Linked DNA regions of Homo sapiens: region 1 is linked to region 2. The links are contacts of gene promoters, found by promoter capture Hi-C in blood cells and fetal thymus (Javierre and others, 2016). All regions are on one chromosome and are shown on one strand. Each heading gives the region's core, a stretch centred on a gene start or on the middle of the fragment in contact. The rest is flanking DNA. Distances are from core to core; before and after follow the strand shown.

Region 1 (3,297 bases), core at 565-3,064, 45 kb before region 2:
ATGGAACTATTGGAGGACTCCCAAATCCAATAGTCTGATTTGCAGACATAAGATTAGCATGGGGACCCCAATCAAGTAAGGTGCCATTATTAAGCAGAGGCCCTTGTCGTGGCGCAGGTTGTCTGCATGGGGTTCACACTGGACAGCCTCAAACTTACATTGCCAGTCCCTTCTCAGACAGCATATAAGAAGACTAGGCACTTGTGTAGCTTCATTAGAGACCTTAGTGAGATTAATGGTAACAGCAGAAATAAAGGTCAAGTTTGCGGGCTTGGCATCCCTTTTGAGGTGACAGTAAAGATACTCCAGAGGAATAAGAGTAATGTGCTTATCATGGGCTATTGTAGAAAAACAAAGAAGGGGGTTGCTAGACAATAAAGTCAAGGAGTCATTGAGTTTAATCCATCCCAAATTTTCAGTTAAGGGGTAAGACAGGGGCATCCATCGACCTCCCATCCAAGAAGTATCATTAGATGACAAAGGCGGGTCAGCATCCCACCACATAATAACATTTCCAACAGTGGGATTCAGAATATGATTCCAGTAAACATGTTCTTGAGCTGATCCCACTTGGCAAAGGATGAGAATCACCAGCCACCCCAGCATCCATGTCTGTCTTACTTTCTCAAAAGCTCCCCCAATTACTGCCAGATACATAAGAAACCAATTCTCTGCAATTGCAGGGGCTCCCATGGCAACAAGCTGGATAGTTGCCTGTTGATCCAATTTCTTTAGCTGCCCTCAGGTAATGTCAGATGCCTTCCGAGTCATCGCTATCATTGCTGGTCGATTCTCCAACGACAGGTCTTTCATCATCAGGAGGGGTTCAGTTGTCTCCTACCTGTTCTCGAGGAGAAAGCCCAATATTCCCCCTTTTTTGTTTGTTAAGATATACTTTAAGAGTTTGATGAGCTCGCTCAACATTGGCCTGACTGGTTGAGTTATAAGGAATGCCAGTCTTGTGTTGTATGTGCCACAGTTGTAAATGCATATGTAAATCGAGCACTAAGACAGCAATGTCTATTATCAGTTTTTGTAATTTGTGGAAGGCCTAAAGTCATAATAGATTTAAAAAGATGAGCAATTGCATCTTTAGTTTTTTCTGTAGTCTGAGGAGTAGCATATTTCAGGCCTGTATAAGTGTCTACAGTAACGTGGAGAAATTTGAAGCATCTAAAGGGTGGATGCTGAGTAATATCAGTTTGCCAGATAGCATTAGGCACCAGACCTCGTGGGTTGGCACCAAGTCCTAACGAAAAAGGGGAGAGCGAATGCCATTGGCAGTCAGGACAGGTTTTAATAATCATGCGAGCTTGAGTGAGCGCCAAATAAAACTGTTGTTTAAGACTGTGGTTGTTCTGATAAAAAAAGGAATGATCAGCTTGAGCTTGCAAAAATGTAGGAGATTCTGTAAACCACGGAGCTTAGTGTTAATATGTGACTTTAGACAACAATGTTTTTATATTTTAGGAAGCTTGAAGCTAACAATATATTAAGACAATGATCTCTTTATAATTTACAATAAATAAAGTGAAAGTTTGTATTTTATATTGTTTAAAACATAAGAAGATTTTATTTGAAAAGACTTTTAAAAAAATATGAAGGCTTTCTCTTAGGGTAAGAATTATGTAATTATGTTGCCCAAGTAATACAGTGATGGAAACAAGACAATATTTTATCTTTCTTTTCTTCAGTTGAATGCTAATAGACAATAGTTTTTTGCTTAGCTAGGAGCTTAAATACTGTTTGGGAGAAGTGGGATATTTATTAGTGGGTTGCAGGGAATAAATGAAATCACCTTAGTAGAGGATGCTGCTATACTTTTATCAATGTCCACTGACATTGGTTTGAAAGTGGAAATCTTTTGTGTAAAGGCCTGGGGATTTTTTGCCTATATCTTAAGTATATCTCTGGGCTGGCAGCCCCTTAATATACTCAGAAAAGTAAAATATAGGTTACAAGATACTTTAAAAATTTATTTTGACTAGTGAGTTTGTTTCTAGTTGATTCACCTAATTAGAGATGTTACAAATCATTTTATATGATTGAACACATGTGAGTGTTGTTTTCCTGGAGACTGGGTTTCATTACAAGCATTCTGATTTGGGCCCCATTGAAGTTTTTCTTTCTCTAGCCCTTCTAAACTAAGCTTTTTAGAACTCACTCACAAGTTGTATGAATTTTGACAGACTTTTATTTTATCTTCTGATTTATTCCGTGTGCAGTGGATTTGAATAGCAGAGTTTTTTTATAGCTCTGCTGATGTGATGTTGGTCACTACGTGCAGCTTGCAATCAGTTGATAAATTCAACGTATGTTTCTGTGGCACTCTGTTTAACTGTTATAAAGGAATGTTTCTGTGGCACTCTGTTTAACTGTTATAAAGGAACCCTGGGATTGTCCCGTGGGTATCCTCTTCTATGCCTGTATTGCTAGCTGCAAGCATTGTGGAAATAGATGGCTGTTTATTTGAGCTTGAGCCTGAGCTCAAGCAAAAGGACCTGGTCCCAATAGCATATCAAGCTGTGTTGGGATATTATTATCCAAATTTTGCAAGGGCTGCTGCATGGATAGATCACTGTACTCACTCCACCGCACAGTATATTCTGCAGCTGAAACCAAAACTTTTACTAAAGTTTTCCAATCATGCGGAGTCATCTTATAGCCATTTCCCAGAGCCTCAATCATCCCCTGGGTAAAGGGTGAATGTACACCATTTTCACAGATACTTTTCTTTATCTCTTTAAAAACAGTAAAAGGCAAACTCTCATGCCGTCTCCTATCATTTTGAACAATGACAGGGAATGCGCCAAAAAGTGCCTAAGAGTCTCCCTTTTTAAGTCCCTCCTGGAGGCACCCCTCTACTAGGGAAGTTTGATGAGGAGTCGTCACTGAGAACGCGTTCACCTGATCATATATGTCAGGCCTCTGAGCCCAAGCTAAGCCAACATATCCCCTGTGACCTGCACGTATACATCCAGATGGCCTGAAGCAACTGAAGATCCACAAAAGAAGTGAAAATAGGCTAAACTGATGGCATTCCACCATTGTGATTTGTTCCTGCCCCACCCTAACTGATATGATATATTCTCCCCTGCCCTTAGGAAGGTACTTTGTAATATTCTCCCCGCCCTTGGGAATGTACTTTGTATGCCTATCCCAAACCTATAAGAACTAATGATAATCCCACCACCTTTTGCTGACTCTCTTTTCAGACTCAGCCCGCCTGCACCCAGGTGATTAAAAAGCTTTATTGCTCACATAAGCCTGTTTGGTGGTCTCTTCACACGGACGTGC
Region 2 (3,166 bases), core at 35-2,534:
GACCCTACAGGCTCAGACAGCAACAAGGCCAGAATCACATAGGTTGTAAGTTGCTGAATGGGAGCTGCAAGTCCAAGTCTTTGACTCTAAATCCAGCGCTCTGTCCAGAGCCCCGCTGCTGCCTCTGTTGGCAGCTGAAGCTGTCAGTCTGCTGCCCCCTGCCCAGTTCAGACAGGGTGGCTGGAAATGGACCAAAGGATGGAAAAAGAGAATAAGAGCGGACTTGAAGGGAACTGAAAGTATTTGTTAAGGGGAAAGCAGAAGGAAGAAAGAAAGAGGCATGAACCCTGGGGCCTGGCCTTGAAGCACAGTGTTCCAGGGGAGGGGGGATGCCGCTGTCCCCACCCCTCCATGGGGGCCTAAGCAGATCCAGAGCTGCCTGGCCTTCCTGGAGGGTGGCGTCCAAGCATGGATGGGAAGGCAGCAAAAATAGGCCCATGTCACTTCTGGGAGAAGACAAAAGAGGGAAGAGAGGACTACTATAGAAAAGTAGAAAAAGAGGAAGGGAGGGAATCTAGGCATACAGATCGGAAATGTGGAGCAAAACAAAATTTTTTTTTTTTTTTTTGAGACACAGTGTCGCTCTGTCACCTAGGCTGGAGTGCAGTGGCGTGATCTTGGCTTACCGCAACCTCCACCTCCTTTGCTCAAGTGATTCCCCTGCCTCAGCCTCCCAAGTAGCTTGGATTACAGGTGCACGCCACCCAGCCTGGCTAATTTCTCTATTTTTAGTAGAGGTGGGGATTCACCATATTGGCCAGGCTAGTCTCGATCTCCTGATCTCAAGTGATCTGCCTGCTTCAGTCTCCCAAAGTGTTGGGATTACAGGCGTGAGCCACTGTGCCCCGTGTGAAACAAATTCTTATGAAACAAATTTAATTTACATGTGCTTAAACTTTGGTGTCAACTTGCATGGAATCCCCAGGCTTGCTAGATTTTTCTAGTGCCTCCAGCCCTTAGGTCTCTTCCTATGTTCTCTCAGCTACTCCTCCTTTCCTTCAACACTGTTAGCCGCTTATCCAGGGCCCTACGTTTCAGCCCACTCCTCCTCCAGCCCCTCTCCACTCCACCTCCACAATGTCTGTTGGAATGGAACAGTTGGGGATACTGGCTGTTTGGCCCCCATGGGGGTCTCTCCATATAGGATTCAGAGAATTGGAAGACTTCTTGGGCTGAAGCAGAGAACGGGATGCAATTTTGAAACTGGCTTTGTGAGTCACTGTGAACTTCAAGCACCCTCCCACTTGAGGTAAGCTTCACCAGTTTGGCTTGTGGGAACTGTCAGACCAGCTCCAGGCGCTGGGGCTTTCTCAGTGGCCTTGTCAGCTCACAGCAGGCGTTAACAGCCTCTAATTGAGGAAACTGTGGCTGGACAGGTTGCAAGGCAGTTCTGCTCCCCATCGTCCTCTTGCTGACTGGGGACTGCTGAGCCCGTGCACGGCAGAGAGTCTGGTGGGGTGGAGGGGCTGGCCTGGCCCCTCTGTCCTGTGGAAATGCTGGGGCAAGTGGTCACCCTCATACTCCTCCTGCTCCTCAAGGTGTATCAGGGCAAAGGTAAGGAGGTCCTACCTGGCGTGGGGCGAGGGAGGGACTAGGAGCTGTGCCCCTCAGGGAGATCAGAGCCAGAGCCTCTGCTTGTGCCACATACACAGTCATCTGGAACTTGACTCCGAGCAGCTCCTGACAGCTCTGACAGTCTAAATCAGACAGGACAGGCTGGCAGTGCACTGGGAGGTCTGTGAGAGGGGTATCTGGCCCTGCCACCAGCAATCCAGGAAGTCTTGGGTGAGGAGATTCCTTCCCACTGGCTTCAATTTACCCTTCCGTGTAGTGGAGAGAGAAGCCTCCTTCCAGCCGCCTGTAAAGATGATGAAAATTGCATCCTCCAATTGTGGCATGAGAGAAGAGAAGCAGTCCCAAGGAAGTGGGTGGTTCTCGAGCTCAGAGACAGATGGATGGACCCCTGAGGCAGGAAAGCTGAGCCCAGGGAGGGGAGGGCGAGGCCAGCAGCCAGGAAGAAGCTGGAAGGCATGGTCCCTCATCTCCCCGGCTTCTTCAGCCATCCAGATGCCACAGGAGCCTGGAAATTATTAGGGACATGCAGGGTTGGGGCAGAAGAAGGAGACAATATGAGGAAGCTCCACAGCAAACCTAAAGCTGTCAGCCAGGCATGGAGCCATCTAACATTTACTCCTGGGGATCCCAGCTGAGGGCTGCTCCCCTCTTTCTCCAGTTCTGGGGTCCAGGATGCTCTGAAACCTGGATCCCGCATTTAATTTAATTGAATTAATTTATTTATTTCATTTTTAATTTTTATTTATTTATTTATTTTTTGAGACAGAGTCTCCTTCTGTCACCCAGGCTGGAGTGCAGTGGCGTGATCTTGGCTCACTACAAACTCTGCCTCCCGGGTTCAAGTGATTCTCATGCCTCAGCCTCCCGAGTAGGTGAAATTACAGACGTGCGCCACCATGCTTGGCTAATTTTTGTATTTTTAGTAGAGACCAGGTTTCACCATGTTGGCCAGGCTGGTCTTGAACTCCTGACCTCAGGTGATCTGCCCACCTTGGTCTCCCCCATCCAAAGTGCTGGGATTACAGGTGTGAGCCACCATGCCCAGCCAGGGTTCTGCATTTTAGATCAGTGACTCTGCAGGGGCTTCACGGAGGTGGAGAGCGTGGAATTAGAGGAGGGTACACTCTGGGCACAAAGAGGGGAAACTGAGGCATAGTGTTGTGTGGGTTCAGGGCCAGGTAGAAGCCCCATATGCAATAAAGTCCCATGCCCAGGTACTCAATTCAGTTACCGAGTCCCTGAGCATTCTTGTGTCCTTCAGGAAGACACAGTCAAGGCTCAGGTGGACTCAACATTTGTAAGGATGCAGGCAGCCTAGGGCAGAGCATGATGAGGAACAGGGAGCAGGGAGGGAGGAGTGGAGCCTGCAGCTCTTGTGGGTGGGTTGGGGGGCCTAGTGGCCCAGGATTCTAGGCAGGAGAGCTAGGTTGGAACCTGGTCTAAGGATCCTTGAATGCAGCTCAGACAGCCGAAGGAGGACTGATGGGATTGGTGCCTGGCTGTGGGGATGAGAGTAACAGAGAAGCTGAGGTTATGACCCTGAGGTCATGAGCCTGTGTGACAGAGGGCAATGCTCCCTCCACCCCCATTC

The links. Contacts are between HindIII fragments. The CHiCAGO score rates a contact against its expected background, and 5 or more counts as called.
Region 1: a fragment that was not itself captured here is called in contact with the fragment with the promoter of CD244 in region 2 in 1 of 17 cell types (erythroblasts); the score reaches 6.5 in erythroblasts.

What each region holds. Positions count from the first base shown.
Region 1 is chr1:160,906,117-160,909,413 of GRCh38, reverse strand. No RefSeq gene overlaps it. Among named protein-coding and RNA genes, the nearest start is that of ITLN1, 23 kb to the right of the region's middle. The HindIII fragment of the contact is 675 bases long and covers 1,477-2,151 here.
Region 2 is chr1:160,861,005-160,864,170 of GRCh38, reverse strand. CD244 (CD244 molecule) reads left to right here and starts at 1,284. Exons shown (of 9, transcript NM_016382.4): 1 at 1,284-1,554. The coding sequence starts at 1,494. RefSeq lists an enhancer at 1,419-1,468. The HindIII fragment of the contact is 2,100 bases long and covers 1,257-3,166 here.